Regions from separate parts of the Homo sapiens genome. Here all the other regions are linked to region 1. Evidence: promoter capture Hi-C in 16 types of primary human blood cells and fetal thymus (Javierre and others, 2016). All regions are on one chromosome and are shown on one strand. The core of a region is centred on a gene start or on the middle of the fragment in contact, and the rest is flanking DNA. Distances in the headings are between cores, read along the strand shown.

Evidence for each region. Contacts are between HindIII fragments. The CHiCAGO score rates a contact against its expected background, and 5 or more counts as called.
Region 2: a contact is called between the fragment with the promoter of AK8 here and the fragment with the promoter of CFAP77 in region 1, in 10 of 17 cell types (activated CD4 T cells, endothelial precursors, naive CD8 T cells and 7 more). The highest score is 7.7, in activated CD4 T cells.
Region 3: a contact is called between a fragment that was not itself captured here and the fragment with the promoter of CFAP77 in region 1, in 1 of 17 cell types (total CD8 T cells). The highest score is 5.5, in total CD8 T cells.

The regions. Positions count from the first base shown.
Region 1 is chr9:132,407,868-132,412,213 of GRCh38, forward strand. It overlaps CFAP77 (cilia and flagella associated protein 77), which reads left to right and starts at 2,344. Exons shown (of 6, transcript NM_001282957.2): 1 at 2,344-2,599. The coding sequence starts at 2,405. It overlaps LOC105376304 (a long non-coding RNA gene), which reads left to right and starts at 2,774. Exons shown (of 3, transcript XR_930405.2): 1 at 2,774-3,864. RefSeq lists a silencer at 3,452-3,501. The HindIII fragment of the contact is 3,866 bases long and covers 414-4,279 here.
Region 2 is chr9:132,876,009-132,880,354 of GRCh38, forward strand. AK8 (adenylate kinase 8) reads right to left here and starts at 2,276. Exons shown (of 13, transcript NM_152572.3): 1 at 2,164-2,276. The coding sequence starts at 2,247. SPACA9 (sperm acrosome associated 9) reads left to right here and starts at 2,890. Exons shown (of 4, transcript NM_001316897.2): 1 at 2,890-3,006. The HindIII fragment of the contact is 5,580 bases long and covers 1,070-4,346 here.
Region 3 is chr9:132,780,674-132,785,019 of GRCh38, forward strand. All of the region lies in intron 11 of AK8 (adenylate kinase 8), which reads right to left. Among named protein-coding and RNA genes, the nearest start is that of AK8, 95 kb to the right of the region's middle. The HindIII fragment of the contact is 3,884 bases long and covers 404-4,287 here.

The DNA.
Region 1 (4,346 bases), core at 1,094-3,593:
CTGACTTCTATGTGATCTGCCAAGTGGCTTTGATTAAAAAATGCACAAACTATGCTTCCGTGAAAGTCTGGAAGGGAAGCAGGTTGGAGAAACGATGAGCCTATGTATGTACTCATGTTGCCATGCAAGGGCTGCTCTGGGATGTGGACGTGCAGTTGGAGCTCCGTCTGGAGAAGTCTGTAAATGTGGTGTTGTCCACTGTTGATATGGAAGGCCTTGAAGTCCAGGTCCGTCATTGGTGTCACGTGTTCTGTGGTGACCCCACTTACCCAGAGCCTTGTGGTGCTAGTGATGCATGAATGAACCCACAAAAGGCTGGCACTAGAGGAGAGATTAGATATCATCCAGTATCGATTCAGGAAAACTCCAATAGTGGTTTCCAATCCTCCTCCAACTGCACCAATCACCTGGGAAGCTTTTTTTTTTTTTTTTCAAATGCAGAGTCTCAACTTTGCAATGGATTTTATATTAAACACTATTGTATCACATTAAAATCTTCGGACATGATAATGACATTGTAGTTACACATGGGAATGTCCTTGCTACATGATGACGTACTTAGGGTTAAATATGGTGTTGACAGATATTTTTCAGGTGATTCTGTAATGTGTGTATGTGCATGCTCACAGAGAGAGAGCAAGAAAATGTGACCAGTGCTGGGGACGGGTGAATCTGTTAGTCCAAACTGCACCATTTTGTAAGCCCCCTGCCATTTTGCAGACCTTGCTTAAAGTGAAACATTCCACGGGGGTTCAGGCAGTGAGAAACAGCCTGCCTCTTATCATATTCTGCTGGGAGAAAGTGACAGGAACATCACGTTCCACCAGAACAAGGGCCAAACTGCCTCATCATGGGAATACCTTATCAACATCTTCCCGGGCAGCAGGCCATACCCACCGGGCCCCTCCCCGCCCAGGCCTATAATTTCTCCAGCCTGTAAGCAGCGGTAGGCACTGGCATTAAGCTGGTCTCCCACCTCTGTAGGTCTCATGCTGGACATAAAGCCTGAATTTGCTGTAGAGCCGCCACTCTTTCTTTAACCCTCCCCTTCCCTTCAAAATCTAACCGAATCTAGGTGAAGCCTATATGTATTTTCATTGTATTCTTCTTTCGACTTTCAACTTTTCTGTAGGTTTGAACTTTTTCACCAAGTTGTGGGTGGGTGGGTAAGGGGATTTTTAAAAATGCAGCATCTGGCCTGGTGAGGTGGCTCATGTCATTATCAGAGCAAGACTCCGTCTCTTAAAAAAAAAAAAAAAAGGAGAGCCTCAGATGCCATTTCCAGATATTCTGATTTAGTGAGTCTGGGGTGAGTCCTGTGAATCTTCGTTTTTCTTTTTTTGGCACATGGTCTCATTCTGTCATCCAGACTGGAATGTAGTTGCCGAAACACGGCTCATTGTAGTCTCAACCTCCTCAAGTGATCCTCCTGCCTCAGCCTCCCCCATAGCTGGGACCACAGGTGTGTGCCAGCACACCTGGGTAATTTTTTTAATTTTTGGTAGAGATGAGACCTCACCATGTTGCCCATGCTGGTCTCAAACTCCTGGGCTCAGGCCATCCTCCCTCCTAGGCTTCCCAAAGCAATGGGATTACATGGGTGAGCAGCCAAGCCCAGCCCAAATCTGTATTTTTCAATTTCCCTTCATTCTGTTGCTTAAATTTGGGAACCATTGATGTAATCCAACTCTAGCGTTTCCTTGTCACCCATCTCACAGGAAAAAAAGAAAAAAAGCCCTTAGGATCCAAGAGGGTGACTTGCCCGAGTCCTCCCAGTGGGTCAGCATCAGCATCAGGCTTGGAATGCATTTAGTGCTCTGTCTCAGGTGTGTGTGTGGCGCAAAGAGCAGAGGTGGGGAGGGGTTGTGAGTGGAATGGGGGTGAGCAGAGGATGGAGTCTTCGACTTGGAAGACAAATGTAAATGACCCTCTATGAGCCACGCCGCTTTGAACGCAACCCACTGGAGATTCTCGGTTCTCCTGTATCGATTCAGGAAAACTCCAAACAAGTCCACACTGGTAGCCACCAAGAGTTTCTTGAAAGAAAAGTACAAGCCGAGCCGGGCTCTGTTGGCGTCCCGTCGCCAAGGAGACGGGCCGTTGCATTCGTCCTCCAGGGGTGGTCTTGGTTTTCTTTCCTCTCCCAGTCTGCAACGCGGGGCCCAGGAGACGCCCTGAGGATCCCGCGGGGCTCCTGCATTGCTCCGGGGCTCTTTGCGATGAGGGGCCGGCGCGAGCGGGGCGCGCCTGGCTCCGGAGGGGTCCTGGCATCTGAGTTTCCCCCTCAGGATCCCGGTGGTGCGGCCCGGGCCGCCCGGCAGGCCCTTCGGAGCTCCAGGCTGTGCCCGACGTGGGGAAGCGCGCCCAAACCAGCCCGCGGGCCGGCTCCCCGGCGACCTCAAGGATGCCAGAGGCCAGGAGCTCCGGCCCGGACCTCACGCGATGGAGGAAGCAGCAGCAGCCTGTGCGCCGCACGGTCAGCCAGGTCTGCCCGCCCCCGCGGCGGCCCCTGACCGTGGCGGACATCCGTTCCGGCATGGAGAACGAGCGGCTGGGGGTCGTGCGGGACTCCATGTTTCAGAACCCTCTCATCGTCAAGGTGAGCACCCCACGCCCACCGCGCTTTCGCTGTCGCCGGCTCCGGGCACCTGCGCCGCCGGGGGTCCCCACCCGCAGCGCCCTGGCCCCGCGGCCCGGGGTCCGAGCGCAGCGTGGGAAGCTCCAGCTCTGGTCCAGACAGGCCTGGACCCCCATGCAGGTCGCGTCGCCTCTCTCAGCCTCGGTTTCCCCATCCTCACAGTGGGATGATAATGGCACCACTAAAGGGACTGATTGGGAAGATTGAATAGGGTAATTTCTGCGGGACCTCGGGACAGCGCCTGACATGGGGTAAGGCTGCAATGGGTGCTGCTGTGGTTTCCCACAGAGTGAACCCACAGGGTGACAGATAGGTCGCACACGCCCAGTCTAAGTCGTGGCTGCCAGCCCTCCCAGGGTAAAGGCCGCCTCTCCGGTTCCGCTGCACGCCTGGGGTACGTCTATGCAGCGGTGGCTCCGTGTCTGTCCTGGAAGCATCACGTCGAATGTTCATTTCCGTTCGATCATACTAATTTCTTACCCAAATTACAACCCTAAGAGAAAAAAAGCATAATCTTTGGCCTAGGAGGCTCCGCAGACAAGAATGAGGGAGCTGCGGTTTCGGGCTGGATCACTTTCCCTTCCATTACACTTCCCTCCTCCCCACCTTTAGCCTCGCTTCCCGCTGATGGGAAACCAACACTGCTGTGGCGGCCACACCTTCCCGGGGGCCACTGGAGAAGTCAGGCTGAGGCTTGGGGGTCAGGGAGCAAGCCTCGAGGCGAATTTATCTTGCGCCGCTGGAGGGCAGTGCGCCTTTAAAAATGCGCCCCGCGTCCCAGGTGCGGGAGTGGAAGGCGCAGGTGGTAACCGTGGATTCAACAACAATTATTTGTGTGACCGCCAGGCGCTGAGTAGAGCCCAGAGGTGGTGGTGGCGGTTTGTTTTTGTTTTGGGGAAAAGGGAACCCGTGCTAGAATTAACTGAGTTAATTGGCTCCTGGCAAAACATTGACTCCCTCCTCTTGCCTTCCCTAAACTCGGTCCTGAGAGGAGGAAGGATACTGCCTAGGCGCAGGCTGCACCTGGGGGAGGCTGGCTTCCCACACTCGTGCCTTTCCATCGAATAGGCTCCTTTCTTAGGCCTCTCAAAGTGGAACAAGGTCCTTCACTTACTTCTACGTGAGAAGAGCCACTCTGAGTGGACAGGCAGGACAGGCAGGTGGGGCCCATTATTCTTGGATGAAGGAGAGAATCACGTCCGCCACCTCTGACTACCTGCATTAAGGTTAGGTCGTTGCTTTTGTTCAAGTAGTTAGTAGTGAGCCAACTTCTTCCTACTGAAGTGTAAAGTGAGGGCGTATGGAGTTATTCTCCATGGTGAGTTAGTGTGTGGTGCCCACGCTGAGCAATATGTACACACACACACACACACACACACACACACATACATGCATATGCATTTGTGTATGCACCCATATAACATACCGTTTACATCTATCATATATACATGTATGCATATGTATAATATACATGTACATATGTGTAAAATGTATGTACATATATGTAAATTTCCCCCTTCTTTTCCTTTTTCCTTTTGCTTCCCCCGCCCCACCCAGCTATATCGAGGACAACATTTGGCCTCTGGATGGCACTAGCTAAACAGCTTCTAGGACCAATTCAATCCCTGATTTCTGAACCCAAGCTTAGGGTCGGAAAATGTACAGGAGGTGACTCACCCACGACTGGGGTTCTGTCTTCAGGGCACGA
Region 2 (4,346 bases), core at 1,026-3,525, 470 kb after region 1:
AGGAGGAGCTCATAGCAGCTGTGCTGCTGCAATAAGGGGTATCCTTGAGCCCCAGGGACAAGGAGGGAGGGGCTGTAGCCCTCTTGGAGTGAAGGGAGTGTGGGGCAGGGAAAGAGCACCGAGCCATGAGAAGTCTTGGTTCCAGCCCCACTGTATCTCATCAGCAAGTCCCTTCCCTTCTCTGGGCCTCAGCTTCTCTGCCTGTTCAGTAGCACAGCTGGAGTGAATTCATGTTTGTATGTCACTGGTGCGATGATGGAATGAGATGATTTTAGATGGTTCACACATAAATATTTTACATTTCATGTTTAAATCATTGTGTATTTAACGTGTATTAGAAATATAAGTACATCAAATCAATAATTTCAAGGATATCACTTAGGATGAGGCAAAAGCGGCTATTTAATTTTTTAAAAGGTGAGTTGATTTAAACAAGTGATTAGTTTAAATGGAGGTGCAGTAGCGGTTATGCAAATCTGTACATGTGATACAACTGCACAGAACTGTATGCACAACAAAAACATCAATGCAGGTAAAAATGGAGGAAATCCAAACAAGGCCTACAGTTCAGGTAATCCTATTGTACCAATGCCAGTTTCCTGGTTTTGACAATGTGCTACAGTTATGTTAGATGTTATCACGGGGGCAATGTGGGAGGGGAGACCAGAAATCCATACTATTTTTTAACTTCCTGTGAATCTAACATTATTTTAAAATCAAAAGTATAAAAAATGGAAATGGTCAAAAACATGGAGGGAATCCACAGATGACTAAGGACTGGAAATACTGGACTGAAAGCTTTCTTGTTGGGAGGCCGAGGCAGAAGGACTGTTTGAGCCCAGGAGTTCAAGACCAGTCCGGGCAACATAGCAAGACCTCGTCTGTACTAAAATTAAAAAAAAAACATTAGCCAGGTATGGTGGCCTGCACCTGTAGTCTCGGCTACTCTGGAGGGACTAAGGCAGAAGGATTGCTTGAGCCCAGGAGTTCAAGGCTGCAGTAAGCCATGATTGTATCACTGCACTCCAGCCTGGGCAGCAGTGCAAGACCCTGTTTCAAAATCAATAAAAGCTTTCCTGGGCAATTCCTCCAACAATCAATGTGGAAAACACACCAGGTTCTCTAGAGCAGACAACAGGGCTCCAGATGATCCCCCATCCTGCCCTGACCTGCTGACTTCTAACCCAGCTAGCTATTTGATTTGTGATTGGCCACTCAAGCAGTTTTAGGAATCTCTTGCTCTCCCTCTATCAGTTAACACTTTCCGAGGGAAATGTGTTTGATGGAGGTGCAGACACGGGTTTCTTCGTCTGGGCTCAGCTGTCTAGTGTGCAGGGCAGAACCTCAAATGACCACAGACACCACTATGCCCTCCATGCCATGCCCCTGGGGATGGGGTGTACCCTGGGAAGCAGACAAATGATCTGAAAACTGAGCTCCAGCTTCCCCTTGCCTCTCAGAACCTTTGAGTGGCTGAGAGTTCTTCCCCTCCAGCTCCTGAAAGCCTTGACCTCCACCACGTGCAAAAGGGAAAACTGGGGCCCTGGCGGGGACGGGGCCTCGCCCAAAGTCACACGGTGAGCTGGGGGCCCAGTCAGGCCTGGAGCCAGAATGAGAGCTTCGGAGCTGCCGGGGACGTCTGGCCCTGAGGAGGAGGGACCAAGGTGGGAGATGCTGCTGTCCCAGAGGCGGCCCTCTCTGAGGATGGAGATGCCAGCTTGAACTCGGACAATGCCCACCTCAGAAACCTGGGCCGAGAGGCTCCCCACAAATTCGACAGATGGTAATTGTCAGCGCCGGGAGAGCCCCTGGGAGACCACCTCTTGCAACCTGGCATTTCACAGGTGGGGAAACCGAGAAAAGGAAAGGACTGGTTCCAGACCATAAGGCCCGCTGGCGGCACAGCCAGGACCAAATCCCGGCTCGAGTGGCCCCCTTCCTCCCCCTGGGTCCGCCTGAGGCAAACCCGGGCAGGACCAGGAGCGTCCCCAGCTCGAGGGCCCCCTCGGGGTCACGGCGACACACGAATCGTACATCCCGAGTTGGGCTGCTTCGTGGGCGCGCGACTCGGCCCCAGCTGCGGGTCCCGGCCGCGCACCCGACGTCGCAGTGGAGGCTCCCGAGCCGCCGCCAGCGTCGCGACGGGCAGGGGTGTCCGGTCACCTGCATCAACTCGAAGATGTGGTTCTCCTCCCCGTACTGGGGCATCTCGGGGGGGATACGGTGCGGGGCGATAGTGGCGTCCATGTAGCCGTCTCGGCTCGCCGCTCCCTAGTAACCGCGTCGCTAGGGCCGCCGCGCCGACTGCGTCATCAGCACGCGCCGCGGCCCCGCCCTGCAGGCTCCGCGCCGGGCCCAGATACCCGATCCTCGGTCGCGCGGGTCGCCCCCGCCCCGACCTCCCCGGCTGACGCGCTCTGCGGCTCGGGCAAGTTCTTTCCCCAACCCCGGCCTCGCTTTTCCCATTTGCGCATCTTAGCGGGGGACACCCTCAGGTGGCTTCCAGCTGGGCCTCCTCGTATCTGAGACCCCCGACGAAACCCAGAAGGGGCAAGTCGGCCCTCCGAGGGGACGGGAGGCAGAACCTGCTTCTGGTTCTGTCAGTGCTCCCCGGCCCGGCTCCCTGTGCCTCAGTTTACCCATCTTTAAAACAGACGCGGGAATAAATGTGGGGGAGGGTGTTTGAAGGGGGAGGGGCGTCCATGAGATGGGCCGGAGGTTCGAGGATCGGGTGGAAATCCTCAGCCCAACTCCTAGAGTCGAGCCCCGGTAGACCCCTCCCAGCTCCCCGGCTCTGGCCAAGCCGCCAAGTGACCCGATTGCTATGGCACCGGCGGTAACAATCACGCCCGCGGCCCCGCCCCTTCTCGCCCGACGTCCCCACCCACCCTCGCCTCCCAAGTCCTGGAACGGGCCTCCCCACCCTCCGGGGCACCGACACTCACGGAGTCACTCCAACTTCTCTGGGTGCTCCGTGGAGCGAAGAGCGCTCTAGGACAAGCAAGGGTAAACAGGGATGAGTGTGGGTGGGCCCACTCGGACCCCACCCCGGCCTCTGGGTCAGAAACTGGAAGCTGGGGTGGAGGATGGAAAGATGGAGGGGTCCGGAGGATGGAGGGGCCTGCACAGCTGTCTCGGGGTGGGGGCGAGGGGAAGGTTCGCGCTGGAGACGGAGCTTTTTAAGTCGTATGAATTCCCAGTGGTACGGGGCAGCTTGATATTTTATTAGTCGCAACACTGAATTGGGATCTCTAGCTCTTGTCTGTTGCCGTTAATCGTAGGAGCTGTAAGAGTTTGTTGAACTCTTTGTGCTCTCGGCAAAATTCTGTTGTCTCTGTACCTTATGGAGAGGGAAAATGGCACAGTCAATGCAGACAGCCCCAGCTTCAAGTTCTGGCTCCGCTTCTTACTGTGTGAGCTTGGCAAACTCTCTGCTTGCTCCGTGCCTCACTTTCCTGCCCTGTGAAGAGGGAACTGCTGAAGGATTTCAGGAGCTAATGTATTGGAGAGTAATTGGCATGCAGTAAGCACACAATATATGGGGCTACTATTAGTAGTAGTATCTCATTTAATCGTTCCAACAATCCTGTGAAATAGGCACCTTCATTCCCATTTTACAGATGAGAAGTTGGAGGATTAGAACAATGAGGAGTGGTTGGCTGGGTAACTTTGGGTGAGTCACTTCCCCTTTCTGGGCTTCTTTTCTCATCAGTTGTTGATCATACAGCCTTAGAACCAGAAGGCCTCTTGAAGAAGAGGCTAATCCAAACTCTCTCATTTGACAGATGGATAAACTGAGGCCCAGAAAAGGGGGAAATCTTGGCTAGGGCCACTGGTTAGATTGGGCAGAGCCAGGGCATGAACTCTGCATCCAGGCTCCAGCTAAAGCCCTTTTCTACCAGCCATCAGCCCAGAGACATGCCCTCCCAACGTAAAAGCCAGCACTGTTGCCTCTTCCCCTCCAAACCGCTTCCTCAAAGTGTGTACACCTTGGTAGGCTTGTCAAACCCAACTGTAAAGATAGCTGGGGAAGAAAAGGAAGCTGCCTCCCCCTGAGCAAAGAACACAACAGCCATGCCTGCCATTTGCACTGGAGAGGTTTGTTTTGCTTCCTGGACATTTCTGAAATGACTTGCCTTTCTCCTCATTTATTTTAAGCCCTAGGCGCTTTTCCTACCATGATTCAATCTTCTTTAGCAGCCTGGAAAAATACAAATCAATTAAAGCCTAAAACCTATGGGTAATCATTTTTTTCCTCCCTCCTCCCCCAGATCGAGAAGTGCCCGTCCCCTGTGCCCTTCATCCACACTAATTTGGCTGCAGTGGCTCTCGTTCAAGGGACGATC
Region 3 (4,346 bases), core at 1,096-3,595, 370 kb after region 1:
AATGACCTGGCACCCAAATGAGCTAATCAGAAATCTCATTCTTGGGTGGTTTCCTGAGAGTCCTAAAATGCAGTCCAATGAAGAGAGAAAAAGATACTCCAGAAAACAACACCAAGATTAAAACTCCCTGCTACCATTTTGCTGAATGTCATTGCCACTGACTCATCTAGAACCCTCCTTTTACATCCTTTTCCGGGGATTTCTGAGATAGCATGACCAAGACCTTGTGGGGGAGGGTTAAGGTCACAGCTTGCCCTGCCCCCTCCCTCCTTGCAGCACGGAGGGAAAGGAGGATGCAAAAAAACAGTGGGTCTCATACACGGCAAACTTCCCAACATCAATCAGAATCCTATACTCTTTCTCTGTAGTAAGCATTAATTTTAAAAGAAAATACTGTGCTACAAGCTTGCAGCATGAAATGAATTATTTTACAGCCAGGCAGAGGGCAGGTTTCTGGATGCAGCCATGAACATAGTTCTTTCTTTGTTTCTTTCTTTCTTTCTTTTTTTTTACTATTATTATTACGTTTTAACAAACTTTATAGCCCATTTTATTTGTTCTGAAATAACTTTTTTTCCTTCTTTTCGACAGATCAATTACTTGGTTTGTTTCCCTTACTGTATGATGTTGGAATCAAGAGATTGATACTGCTCAGTGGAATATAATTTAGTATTATGTGCCATGGGTTTATGAGGTAGGAGTCAGACAAAACATTGCATTTGAACACTACCCATTTATTAGCTCTAAGAAGAGATTTATATTTGACAAGGAGACAATAGCTTTGTTTTCTGATAAGCCAAAGAGGTCTATTTTTGTGTCCAATACACTGAGTAGCTTACCCTTCCCCGATAACTCTATTTACTAGTGTGAATATATTTTAATAATAAAATTGATATATATGTAAATTTATTTTAATCTAATTTCATTGAACCTTCCTTAAAAAAAGAGCCTTTGTAGATTTTCATATCTGAATTATAGATTTCTGTATCGTATTCCCAGATTGATTTCTAGGCTATAATTCTGTCAAGATTTCCTCCTGGTGTCAAAAACAGCAACACCACAGCTAGAGTGTTTTATAATTGGCATCACAACCGAACCAGAATTACAGTCCTGATAGTCATCCTGGTGCTAGGTGGATTCATTTTAGAATATTTCTCTCTTTCTTAGCCTGTATCTGAACTTGAAGGTTTACGGCTAAGATTACTTTCTGAGTTAATCATAAAAATGTTTAACTGAAAGCTAAGGTGCTGGAGATGGAAGAGACAGAGATGAGAAAGGAGGAAGGAAAATATACCTTCAATGACTACGAAAGGATGATCAACAGCAGCATATGATTAAATCTACATTGTAAATCAAGATTTTTTGTTCCTGCCTGTCCTTCGCCCTAGGGTCAAATAAATTAAATTGGCATTCTTTACTAAGTCTTTAGAACGTGATTTTCACTCCGTGGTGAACGGAAGAGTGTTTCCTTGCAACCCTGCCCTAAATCAAATCGGTTCTTGAATATTCCTCCTGTGTGCTTTTCCTCCCTGTGTTGGTCCTGTAGTACTGGTGCTTGGGCTCGGTAAGTAAAACAGTCATTTTTCCCCCCAGGCTTCAGAAAACCAGCACAGGATTCTCTCCCCTGACCTGTTAATGACACCCTGCCCCTGCCTTCTTTAAAGTGATTGTTCTGCATTTTCCCCAGTGCGTTTCATCTTCACATAGCTGATGCGCTCACAAAGAAGCTATGCAGGCTGGGAGCAGTGGCTCACGCCTGTAATCCCAACACTTTGGGAGCCCAGGGCGGGTGGATCACCTGAGGTCAGGAGTTTGACACCAGCCTGACCAACATGGTGAAACCCCGTCTCTACTAAAAATACAAAATTAGCTGGGCATGGTGGCACGCGCCTGTAATCCTAGCTACTTGGGAGGCTGAGGCAGGAGAATCACTTGAATCCGGAAGGCGGAGGTTGTAGTGAGCCAAGATCGTGCCATTGCACTCCAGCCTGGGCAACAAGAGCGAAATTCCGTCTCAAAAAAAAAAACAAAAACAGAAGCTATGCAACTGATGCTGTGACATTAACCACGTCTGTGGCATTAACTATGTTAGGAAGAACAGAGGGTGGACACTTAGCCTTTGGGTACTTTGGTCCCTGGAATTTCACAGGAATAACGGCAGTAAAACAGGATGCTCAGGTTAACACTATCAGATCCCCGCTGCCCTGGGCCTAAACAGGTTTCAGTCTTCCAATGGGAAGCTCTGTAGCCCAAACTCTAGGGATATAATTCAGAGTTGAGGAGATTCTAACTTTGGGAAAGGCAGAATAATGCCTGCCCCCAACTCCAAGATGTTCACCTCTTAATTCCCAGATTCTGTGAATAGGTTATCTTACCAGGAACAAGGAACTTTGCAGATTGGATTAAGTTAAGGACTGTGTTGATATGGTAAGATTATCTCAGGTTATCTGGGTAGGCCCAATCTAATCACATGGCTCCTTAAAATCTGAGACCCTTTCCCGGCGCTGGTCTCAGGGAGACATGAGTACAGAGGAAGGATGGGAGTTGCACTACGGCCTCTGAAGATGGTGGGAGGGGTTGTGAGCCAAGGAATGTGGAAGCCTCTAGAAGGTGGAAGAGGCAAGGAAACGGATTTTGCCCTAGAGCCTCCAGGAAGGAATGCAGCCCTGGCAGTGCCATGATTTTTAGAACTACAGAATTTGAAGACAATAAATTTGTGTTGTTTTAAGCCACCAAGTCAGTGGTAATTTATGATGGCAATATAGGTAACTAATATGCCAACTCACACTATTCTTAGACAAACAACCAGCCTATTCAAAGGTAAAGGATTTACAGAATATATCCATCTTGGGACCCAGTTATAGGTGCTACCAAAAAATGGAAGGAAAGGGGCATAAAAGTTAAAAAAAAAAAAAAAGAGAGAGAGACAATGAATACCTGTTAGAAAATGAATTACTCCAGGAAACATAAGAACATTTTAGATAAAACCTTACCAGAATGTTCTAAATAATTTAAAGAGAATGGACTCCATGATATAGGAAGTGAAAGAAAAGATGATGAGATTTTTAAAAAGGAGATGCAAAGAAAGCTCACAAAATGAAGGAAAAATGCCTAAGGGGAAAAGTAAAAGCATTATGGAAACAAAAAAACAAATGAAAAACAGCAAGAAATAAACACAGCAGAAAACAGTCAGTTACCATGAAGGTCAGAGTGGAGAAAATAATACCAAAAAGAGTAAGGTAAAAGCCACCAGCAGAAAATCCGAATTATGAAAAGCTGATGATAAATATCTAACACACACATAATTGGTCTTACTGAAGAAGAAAACCAAGCAAATGAACCAGAAAAATATTAATATATCTACTGGAAGAAAATCATCCTGAAATACTGTAAGTGAAAGGGTTCCTAATGTCCAGAGAAAAGTAATAAGGAGAACCAAGACTGAGCTATGGCCTGGTGATTGTAAATGAACTTAAAGAGAAAGAGAAGGGGGTAGGGGACACAGACAGAGGCAGAGAGACAGAGAGATCTCCCGAACACCCAGGCAAAAGAAACACATCCATAGGCCGGGCGCAGTGGCTCATGCCTGTAATCCCAGCACTTTGGGAGGTTGAGGGGGTGGATCACCTGAGGTCAGGAGTTCAAGACCAGCCTGGCCAACATGGTGAAACCCTGTCTCTACTAAAAATACAAAAAGTAGCTGTGCATGGTGGCACACATCTGTAATCCCAGCTACTCAGGAGGCTGAGGCAGGAGAATCGCTTGAAGTCAGGAGGGGAAGGTTGCAGGGAGCTGAGATTGCGCCATTCCGGCCTGGATGACAGAGTGAGACTCCATCAAGAAAGAAAGAAAGAAAAGGAAGGAGGGAAGGAAGGAAGAGAGAAAGAAAGAAAGAGAAGGAAAGAGAAACACATCTGGCAAGATGTCAGAGGCTGTGCAGAAGGGATTTGGAACACTGAGGGCGGGGGAGGAGCTTGGGGAGAGAAAGAAAGAAACATGATCAAAGAATTCTTTGCCAGATGTTGTTTACAAGTAAAAATAACAGAAAGACATTCTCAAGTATGCAAAAATTCAGGAAGTTTAGTATCTATGTACCCTAGCTGAAAATGAATCAAAGACATAATCCATTCAAATGAAAGATAAAATCAAAATTAATAAATGAAGAGGTTGAAATATATAAACAACTGGTGTTGAAATCTTAATCCAGTTTTAAAGAGAATAAAAACTTTGTAAGTATAGTAATTATAGTTAAAAACAGAATATAATTGTTATATTTCTAGAAAGAAAAGCTTAATCAATACTGATTAAAAACAATAATCTGTGTATAATAGACTGGCACAGAAAAA